2 separate regions of the Homo sapiens genome follow, and region 2 is linked to region 1. The links are contacts of gene promoters, found by promoter capture Hi-C in blood cells and fetal thymus (Javierre and others, 2016). All regions are on one chromosome and are shown on one strand. The core of a region is centred on a gene start or on the middle of the fragment in contact, and the rest is flanking DNA. Distances in the headings are between cores, read along the strand shown.

Region 1 (5,638 bases), core at 1,631-4,130:
GTGGCTTCTAGACATAAGGAAATCCCCTGTTTTCTGACCCTTAAAACAGTTCATCTTTAGCCTATTTAATAAATGTCTTATTTTTCATGTTTGCACCCCCCCACCCCCAAAACTCAGGTTGACAAGGGTGACGATGAAAAATAGAGAGGATGTTTGTTTATTTCTCCAAAATATGTCCCCCCTCTGCCACCCCACCAAATGTTATTTCCTATTAGTATTGAAACATAATATGAAGATTTCATAAAACGGAGACCAAAATGACAAACTAGCTATCAGTTGTGAGGTCTCCCACATACTGTTCAGTAGACTCTTTCCCATTAGAAAATAGGTAGACCACTTATTACCTTCCAACCTCGTCTTTTTCTCCCAATTCACTGAGCAGCCACAATCTGCTGCCCTCTCCTGTTGAATACTACATGAGCTGCAGGCTGAAGTGGGGGTAATGAGAACAGGGACCCTGGAAAGCACACATGTATGTCGTCCACCAGTTCACCTTGTAGCATTTCCCCCACCAACCGTTCTTAATGTCCAAGTCCAGTGGACTATTGTGACATTTGTCAAGGTTTTCAACCAGTTGAATATGGCACCCGTGGATGAAAAGGATACACTCTCCATCGTCCAAAGTGCAATTTAAAGTAAGCTCTTCTTTAATGCTCTGGGGAAATTGTAAGTCAAACATCTTTTTAGACTTCAGAGCAAAAAGAGTAGCATTTACATCTCAAATAAAGAGTCAATTTAGTCTTTCATTCACTCGTTGACAACCTATGTCAAGTGTTGTTGTGGGTCAGGTTCCTGGGAAACAGAAGCTGATACAGAGATCCGTGTGCAGAAGTTTATAGATGAGTACTCTTGGTGACAAGAAGGAAGCAAGTTGGAGAATCGGTAGAAGCTGGACTGAGGTGCAGTTACAACAAAGATCTCAGCTGATCCTGATCCCTTGGGGAGCTTCAGAGTTGCTCCACCTCAAGGCAAGGGAAAAGGACCTTGAGACCCCCTCATGGATGCCCTATGGAGGAAGAGTGACCCTGGGTAAACTGTTCTCTTCTACTGAGGACAAGTATAAAAATTAGAAGTTCCTGGATGGAATATTATGAGCAAAAGGGAAAAAATTAAAAAATGAAAAATTTGAAAGACAAAATATTGTGTTTTGGAGGATTTTTTATTTTTATTTTTTTAAGACAGGGTGTCACTTTGTCACCCAGATTGCAGTACAGTAGTGTGATCACGGCTCACCGCAGCCTCAACCTCCTGCATTCAAGCAACCCTTCCACCTCAGCCTCCCAAGTATCTGGGACTACAGGCATGCACCACCATGCTCAGCTAATTTTTGTATTTTTTGTAGAGATGGGGGTCTCACTATGTTGCCCAGGTTGGTCTTGAACTCCTGGCTTCAGATGATCCTCACACCTCAGCCTCCCAAAATGCTAAGATTACAGGCATGAGCCACTGTGCCCAGCCAACAAAATATTTGGAAGACATTTTTGATGAGTAAGACTTTTCCTACCCAAACTTCATCAAATTTATCAGAGTATTAACACTAATTTCAATTAGAGCCAGTAAGTAGTGTTTCCTTTTCATTTTCCAAGCATTGCAGACTGATCTCTGTTTTCTAAACATAAACTTACTAATATTTTACTGTGTGCTCCTGGAAAAACTACATTAAATCTATCTCAATTTGTCCAATTAATGAAAATTAAATACCAGAACTGTTCATATGTACATTGTCTCCCCCACTAGATTATATTCTCCTGAAAAACAAGGAATTTATGTTTTTTATTTGAGCATGTCTCAAAGTAGTGCATACTAGATGCTGTACAGGTGACAAGATGAATGGGTGGATAGAAGGATGGATGGATGGATGGATGGATGGATGGATGGACGGACGGACATATGTATAGATAGATGGGTGGGTAAATGGATGAATGAGTGGGTGAATGGATGAATGCGTGGGTGGATAGATAGATGGGTGGTTGGGTGGATGGATGAGTATTTGCATGTATAGATAGATGGGTGGGTGAATGAATAGGTCATGGACGGATGGATGGATGGATAGATGGATGGGTGAATGGATGGATGGGTGGATAAATGGATGGATGGATGGATGGATGGATGGATGGATGGATGGATGGATGGATGGATAGATGGATAGATGGATGGATAAATAGATGGATGGCTGGCTGGCTGGATGGATGGAGAGATGGATGGATGTGTGGATGAATAGATGGATGGATGGGTGGATGGGGAATGAGTGGGCAGGTAATACATGAGTGAGTGGGTGGATGGAAGGATAAATGGATGGGTGGATGGATGTGTGGGTGGATGGATGGAAGGATGGATGGATGGATAGGTGGATGAATAGATTTGTATTTGTGAGTGGGTGGATGAAAAGATGGGTGGATGGGTGGGTGGACAGATATATAGATTTCAAAAATGAGTATATCTATATGAATGAATGAATTCCTCCCCGACAACAATTATAAATTGATGTCAGCATAGAAATAAAATATTCCCAAAGGTTGAGCAAAAATTATCTAATTGTATTTATCTAATAAACTAGAAAAGTAAAAATAAGGATGACGTCACTACACAGGGACATTTTACAGTATTTCTCCCACCCATGCTCCCTCTAAAAACCTTGCAACTAGTTGATTTACCAGTACTACCCACTTGTGGTAAAACAATTTTTGTCACCAACACATCACTCACACCTCTCTGCCATCAAGATAATACATGTGGTCCCCAAAATGTTCCACCAGGAGGTGTTCTGGGGGCAGCTAACTAAGAGGGGGCTTCCAGACAGATGGAGGAGTTGATACACATGAGGTCACAGATCTACTGCCTCTCCCCCTTTAAAAGAAACTACTCAGCTCCATTTGTCTCAGAATCTAGAGGAAGTTGACAAAGGTGCCACAGCAGCACAGCACAGTATGTGGTGGAGAGTTCTCAGCTTGCTGGCATGGTTCCCCTTGCAAGGTAAGGACTTAGAGTTATTTTTGTTGTTGCTCAGCTGACTTAATGTTTTGCCACATCTACCTATCAGTCAGTCAACTGCATTTACAGAGGAGCTGCTGTAGAAGACAACCCAGGTAACTGCTAATACTTTCCAAGCCATGCTCAAATCATGCATCTGAGGGATGTTACTGCGTTTATTTGATCTCTCGTTCAATGGCTAAGGAGTATAGAAAGGATCATTATAGTGTGTGTCTCTGTGGGTCCTATGTTACGGCAAGATGAAACAAGCTTATTAGGCTCTGTCTTTTAAGGGCATACCAGTTGAAAGAGCATCCGTATTGAATTTTATTTTATTTTATTTATTTATTTATTTATGAGACACAGTCTCGCTCTGTCGCCCAGGCTGGAGTGCAGCGGCACGACCTCGGCTCACTGCAAGCTCCGCCTCCCGGGTTCACGCCTTTCTCCTGCCTCAGCCTCCCAAGTAGCTGGGACTACAGGTGCCCGCCACCACCACGCCCGGCTAATTTTTTTATATTTTTAGTAGAGACGGGGTTTCACCGTGTTAGCCAGGATGGTCTCAATCTCCTGACCTCGTGATCTGCCCACCTCAGCCTCCCAAAGTGCTGGGATTACAGGCGTAAGCCACCGCGCCCGGCCTCCACGTTGAATTTTAAAATTTCCTTGCTGTATAAATCTTAGCCAAACGATTTAATCTCTTTGAAACTCAGTTTCTGCATCTTAAAATGAAAATGATAAAAACTTTTGATCCACCAAACTCCCTGGATTGTTAGAAGGATCAAATTTCAAATGTGAAAGCACTTTGAAAATGATAAAGCGCTGTGCAACACTTATTTAGCTCAGAGGTAATAATGAGACCAATGAAAACTTCGTGTTTATTTTTAAAGAGTAAGTTATACTTTACATTTTACTATAATTTTCAAATTTGGATTTTAGTGCTTAATCCTAATGTAGCATTATGAAAATTAAGGATAGAAGCAGTTACCTTTTTGGAGCAGGTCAAATTATTTTCTACCCAAAAGTGGGGGCAGGGGTGTAGGAAGTGGCTCCTGTTGTCCCTCAGTCTCTGCTTACAATTGTATCAGATTCATGCAAAGGACATCCCTCACAAATCCACTCAAAAATTTTGCTTTTTGTGTGTTTGTTACCAAATATTGAAACTGTAGTTCTGTTTCATGAAATGCACCTATCCTTCTAAATCTACATTTAATCTGGAATGGCATCTGAAGGACGCTACTTTAAAAAACTCGATTTCCTATTTTACATAGTACTTCAATTCCCTATTTTATATACTTCAATTAATGCCTTCTTTTTTTGGTCCCTGTACCCTGAGGCACTTAATAAGGATTCAATTTTGGTAATGAATAATATTAGTTTCTTCATTAAGTGGCTTAAAGAATAGCTAATACATTCAAAAAGAGTACATTTAGACAGCTAAAATTAGGATGATTTCAATTTTTCCAGAGTTTAAAGCCTTTCACTGACCTTAACTTTTTCAGGCTTTGAGTTATTGCCTCATAAAAAATAACTCATAAAAATACATTTTTTAAATAAATAGCAAAAATTATGTTTCAAGGTAAACCTAAATTACTTAAATATTATTTATATAGAGAGGAAAAATATTGTTTCATGCACAGTGCTGAGTACTTTGTGTTAATTACACTTAATCATAGCGGAAGTACTGAGGTAGGTACTAATATCCCCAATTTAAAGATGAGAAAAGAAGTTATGTAACCTGCCCAAGTTTTAAAGCTAGAATATGACAACATAAATACCAGCCTATAAAGCACATAGTAAAAGTATTTATTTCATGAAACTTCTAATTAACGTGTGTGTGTGTGTGTGTGTACTAGTTGTGACAGAAAATGTATTAATGTGGATCAAAAGTTGGAAAACCACTGACTTTCACAATTTGGAGGATTCAATATTAAAAAGTCCTATTTGAAAACTCGTTCAAGGGGCCACCCGAGGGCATCTAAGCTCAATGGCATTTGAGCAGTGGCTGCCACCCCTGACCTAACCTTGCTCAAGCCCATCCCAGACGTAATTAGGAGGAGGTGACCATGTTGCTTTCTTGTCAGCAAAAAAGGCAGCAAATCATCAGTTTTGGCAAAGCTATAAACTGTCAGCTGATTTTAGCAAATTAAATTATGGGAAGATCACTGTGACTACTTCTACAGTGTTACTTCTATGGCTGCCAAAAATTTATGGAAAAAAAAAAAGTCACGTAATCTCAGAGCCTGCCCTCTTTTCAAGGCCACTCCCAGAATAAATAGTCTTAGGACTGGTAAAAACACAATAAAAATGAAGCATTTTTCAAAATTCATCCCATTAAATTACACTGTAGACAATGAAAATGTCAAATCCAATGAATTTTGAACCCTCTGTTTTCATTGTTTTGTGGAGGGTAGGATGCAGAAAACAAAGGAAAATTGCAAATTGAGTAGTTCTTTTCATACTTTCTTTGCCCAGGAAAAAGTCACATGTTAGATGACATGTTGAGACAGCTTCTTTAAAATGTACTAAAAATATTCCGATTCTGACAAGTCTGATTTATTTTTATACCTGCAATTTTCTCTATTGATTCAATCTAAAAATAATAAAAATCTTTTTTTGTAATGATCTGAATTAAAACACACTTTTGCTTAATGCCTCATGACAGTCA
Region 2 (5,172 bases), core at 2,345-4,844, 48 kb before region 1:
TCTCTACTAAAAATACAAAAATTAGCCAGGTTTGGTGGTACACACCTGTAGTCCCAGCTACTCGGGAGGCTGAGACAGGAGAATCTCTTGAATCCGGGAGGCAGAGGTTGCAGTGAGCCAAGATGATGCCACTGCACTCCAGCCTGGGCGACAGAGCGAGACTCCGTCTCACACAAAAAAAAGAGTTCTTACAAGTAGATGGCAAACATAAAACAAAAGAATAAGTAGAATGTAATATAAATTAGGCATGTGTTCTCACATCTTTCAAACTTAGGCTAAGGTTTTGTATCTGCTTTTGGTGAGTGAGAAAGGGCATTGGGGACATGGGTCCCAGTTGTAATTTTAGATTTGCTACAATGCCTTAATTCTTTTATTGTTCATTCAATAAATCGAAGCTACTTATTGTCCAGCTTCCCTATGCCTAGGACATATTTGTCTGTAACCTTAGCTGTGCCTCAGTTTTCCTGGGGATAACCTAGAGATAGAATGAATACCCACCCCCGCTCCCCCCCCACCGCCCCACATGATAGAACAAATGAGGACTTCTCTGAAATCGCATGAGTTTCTCAAGGGAAAGGCACTACTGGGCCAAAGGCATTATTAGCCAAGACCATGCTGTGCTTGAACATTTAAGGAACACAAGTTTAGGCTTGTTTCCCTGTGACTCGGTGACTTTCTCCACTTGTCCCAGAAAAAAAAGAATGTTCCTTTTCATGGGACGTCACACATTTAGCTTTGCAGTTTATGAGATTTCGCGTGAATTGTTTTTCCCTTTAAGCTGATTTAACAATCCCACAGAAAACCTTCCTGGCTTGTTTGGGGAGGTGGTTTGAGTGTGTATGAGGCAAAGGGACAGGAAGAATAAGGAGGCAATCAGAGCAGGGAAGACCTAGAACTGAAAGATGCTGAAGTCAGAATTAGGGAAACAAACAGGTGCCCTACATAAAAGGAAAATCGGAAATGCAGCGGTGCAAATGAGCTCTCTGCACAATCACTCTCATCCTCTGAAAAGAATCACACCTTTACTGGCTCCTTTCTTTAGCGATTTCCAGAAGGAAATTCTCTCTTTATAACATGTTCTGGTGTATCACCTTGACATCAACCAGCCAATTAGTTCACAGGCCTACCCAGCACAGAGTCCAGGGATCAGGGTCGGCTGGAAGGAAGGATGTGACGTGGGAGATCAGGTGCTCTGGTTCTGTAGAAATAATTATGCCCCTTCGGTGCACAAGGCTCTGTCCTAAGGTGTTTTCTTAGATTGTCTCATTTAACTTTTATGGGCTTAAGTATTATTTTATAGATGAGGAAACTGAAGCCTGAAGCCAAAGTTAGAAATATGCAAATGGAGACCAGAATATTTAGCCTTCAACTAACGGCTTTGAGACCCTAGAAAACAGTAAAAGCTGTTAAAGCTTTCTCCGTCTTTGTGTCCCTTGTGAAACAAATAAGATAGGAAATATTTTCCTTACTATTGAGGTCTCCCACTATTAGTAACAAAAAATACTAAAATAAATGTTCTCTACAGTACCTTCATGCCTATACCTGTGATGTTAATACATACCAGGAAACGAAGGCAAAAAGAAATAAAGAATAAATAGCCAACTGGCATGGCCTGTTTTTGGCCTGGGGGCTGTTTCGGAGCCCAAAGTAAGAACGTTTTCTCCATCTGATGAAAGCTGGCTACATGCTGACATAGACACTGATGTCTAGACATTTTTCTTTCAGGATCTTTGTTAAAACTATAGGTTTAAAGAAAACTCCTTTAAGGCAAGAACCATGTCTGGTTTAAAGAGCTAAGTTGGCCGGGCATGGTGACTCACACCTGTAATCTCAGCACTTTGGGAGGCCAAGAGAGGGGAATCACCTGAGGTCAGGAGTTCGAGACCAGCCTGGCCAACATGGTGAAACCCTGTCTCTACTAAAAATACAAAAATTAGCCAGGTGTGGTGGCGGCCGCCTGAAATCCTAGCTACCAGGGAGGCTGAGGCAAGAGAATCACTTGAACCCAGGAGGCAGAGGCTACAGTGTGCTGAGATCATGCCATTGCACTCCAGCCTGGGCAACAAGAGTGAAACTCTATCTCAAAATAATAATAATAATAATTCATAAATAAAGAGCTATGTTACACAGAAAGGGGGTACTTCATTCCCTGAGCCTTCCTGGAGGAGAGACACTCCACCTGGCCCCTCTGTAACCCCCGTATGGAAGACTGGCTTTCCATGAGCTGGGTTTCAGGTGTCTATCATGGTGACTATCAGATGAAGCAAGGGAAGCTAGGTCCATGTCCATTTATACAGCAGTTGGCCAGAGAGCCTACAGGATTTCAGGTCAATTTCCAAAAACGATACTTGAATCCTGATGGGAAATCTAGACATGCCTGAAGAAAAGTATGAAACCATTTCTAGCACCAGGCATACACCGTCAATACCCTGAAGAGAGAAGTGCTCTCTGATAGGAATTCACATCTACTCAGGGCCTGCAGACCCCAAGGGCTCCTGGGCACATCGCCCTCTGGAGGTGTGCAGTATTAATGCAGAACATACAGTCCTGCCCTCAAGGCGCTCAGGAGAATGGTGAGGCATGGGGCTCACTCACCCTCTCTTCCTTTTCCAGACATTACAGGTCATCTACCCCTATACCCCACAAAATGACGATGAGCTGGAGCTGGTCCCCGGGGACTTCATCTTCATGTCTCCAATGGAGCAGACCAGCACCAGCGAGGGTTGGATCTATGGCACGTCCTTAACCACCGGCTGCTCTGGACTCCTGCCTGAGAATTACATTACCAAGGCTGATGAATGCAGCACCTGGATATTTCATGGGTAAGCAGACACAAAGACCTTTATGCCATTTGAAGAATGTTGCTAAGGCAGACTGGATCCTGGATACACAGGGCAGCAGTAAATGGAGTCCATGGGAAGAAGGCCCTGTGGATTCCAGAATTCCAGGAAAGGAGCTGATTTGAGGCATGGGGAAAATGCGAAATGGATTGCTCTGCTTCCCTCTGCCTGCCCCATTTGCCATGGTTGTCTGCTTCAGTTCCTGATCAGAGACTAAACTGAGGTGGCTTGGGGTCCATCTCTTCTGGCCGAAGAGTGGCATCATCCCAGTGCTGCGTCTTCACTGCTTTAGGGCTTCTGTCCACCTTATCCTGGGTCATGAGTCAGGGTGGTCTGATTTCCCGAAGCAGCTGGGCGGATTACTACCCTGCCATCCAGACCAATAGAGAAGGGGGTTTCAAGAGGCAGGAGCCCTAACTGTATCCTTGATTTGCTAAGTGACCCTGAGCAAGTCCCCAGACACAGCCTATGCATGCCTAGACAACAAAGACCATGTCTAAGGGAACAGGCAACTGCCAGACTGAAAAGGGGTCCATTTCCCCCCTCCCCTCTGCCAGTCTTCTTTAGGGTAATAACTTTCCACCCGTCCCTCATTACTATTTTGCCCCCATTCCATACTGGTACCACATTCAGTGGCCAACTTTGTCCCAATAGATAAAATAGAAACAAAAGCCATCTTCTCTTTCTTAGTTGGAGCAGCTCAAAGCCAGCGCTTCCCTGGCACACTGGGGCATCTAGCCAGGGTCTGCATGCTGGTTTGTTTTTCTCCCACTTGTTTTTGTCATGTGGCAACATGGCTGAGAGGCAGAAGCCCTGAGCGCCAGCTGCTTGGTGGCTAATATTGTTATTATTGCCATAAAGGAGAAGCAGAGAGAGATGATTTCATCAAGTCTTTTGCCTGGAAGGAGAAAATAAAGGTCCCCTACCCTAGTGAGCCACAAACAGACAAACCACAAATCCAAAGATGGGAAAGAATATTTTCTTCCTCAATAACCCCACCCAGCAATCCCTCCCCCTCTCCCTCACTCTGCTCCCACCTCAGCCCAGCCCATGAGCCTCCAGAATTGGATGGCACAAAATTAGAGGTCAAAGCTGTCTTATGTTCCCCAAACATTTTGCTTTTTCAGAAATGCTTTGGAAGATCAAAATATATAAGCTGGGTTTCCAAAGTCTCCATTTTAATCCCTACAACAACAAGTAAAGCAAAATATGCGTGAATAAACTGAGAACTAAAACATTATTTGCCTGACAAAGCACAGTTCTCAGATCTGTTATTTTTTATTTTACAGTACTTGGAGTTGCTGTTTTATCAGATCTCTTTCTTAAAAGTGGGTGTATGGCCAGGTGCGGTGGCTCACACCTGTAATCCCAGCACTTTGGGAGGCCAGGGTGGGTGGATCACTTGAGGTCAGGAGTTCAAGACCTGCCAAACCAACATGGTGAAACCGCGTCTCTACCAAAAATAAAAAAAAAAATCAGCTGGGCGTGGTGGCATACACCTGTAGTCCCAGCTACTCAGGAGGCTGAGGCAGGAGAATCACTTGAACCTAGGAGGTGGAGGTTGCAGTGAGCTGAGATCACGCAACTGCACTCCAGCCTGGGCAACAGAGCAAGACTTTGTCTGAAAAAAAAAAAAAAGTGGAGGTATATGAGAAGCAGTGCTGATCTCTTAGAGTTCACTCCATCCAAACCCACTCTTCCCTAAATTACAACTCAGGCCGATGTATAGGTGAACCTGAGTGACTTCGGTCAGTGCGTCCCAGGGAGGTCTTTGTGTCATCTTTTATTCGAGAGATTACTAATGATGTCATGTCTCTGAGAACAATGTCTGAAATTAAACTAACAGCTTCCACAGCCAACCCTGCTCAAAGTAGGTAAATAAGTTAGGCATTAGTTTATTGTGATTAAGAATTTGAGACTGGATTCCAATAGTCTTGGATTTAAACGATAACTCTCCCACTTACCAGCTGTGTGGCCTTGGCAAAGTTGCATTACCTCTCTGAGCCTCTGTTTGCTCATCTAGAAAATGGAACTAATAATTGCACTTACCTCATAAGGTTGTTGGGAAGACTGCAATACAGAGCTTAGCTTTACATGGTTCAGAGTCTGGTGTATAGCGGTGACTATAAAATCGCCATTTGCATAATGATGATTATTCTCTTTTTTCTATCTTGTGTTTGCCAGTCCTCACTTAGTGCTCATCAAAGGAAATGTGTCTTCCATAAAAGCAATCCTGTAGATGAACTGCACTTTCCTATTTAACCCCAGAGGTCAAATGACTCAAGGAGGCAGAGCCCAGCTTCCTTGTAAGACAGACACAGACCTTCTCTCT

The links. The method cuts DNA at HindIII sites, captures the fragments that hold promoters and counts their contacts. A CHiCAGO score of 5 or more calls a contact.
Region 2: a fragment that was not itself captured here is called in contact with the fragment with the promoter of CRTAM in region 1 in 2 of 17 cell types (naive CD8 T cells and total CD8 T cells); the score reaches 6.9 in naive CD8 T cells.

What each region holds. Positions count from the first base shown.
Region 1 is chr11:122,835,620-122,841,257 of GRCh38, forward strand. It overlaps CRTAM (cytotoxic and regulatory T cell molecule), which reads left to right and starts at 2,881. Exons shown (of 10, transcript NM_019604.4): 1 at 2,881-2,973. The coding sequence starts at 2,928. The HindIII fragment of the contact is 4,925 bases long and covers 1-3,238 here.
Region 2 is chr11:122,786,487-122,791,658 of GRCh38, forward strand. It overlaps UBASH3B (ubiquitin associated and SH3 domain containing B), which reads left to right. Exons shown (of 14, transcript NM_032873.5): 6 at 2,614-2,822. Among named protein-coding and RNA genes, the nearest start is that of CRTAM, 49 kb to the right of the region's middle. The HindIII fragment of the contact is 4,369 bases long and covers 1,411-5,172 here.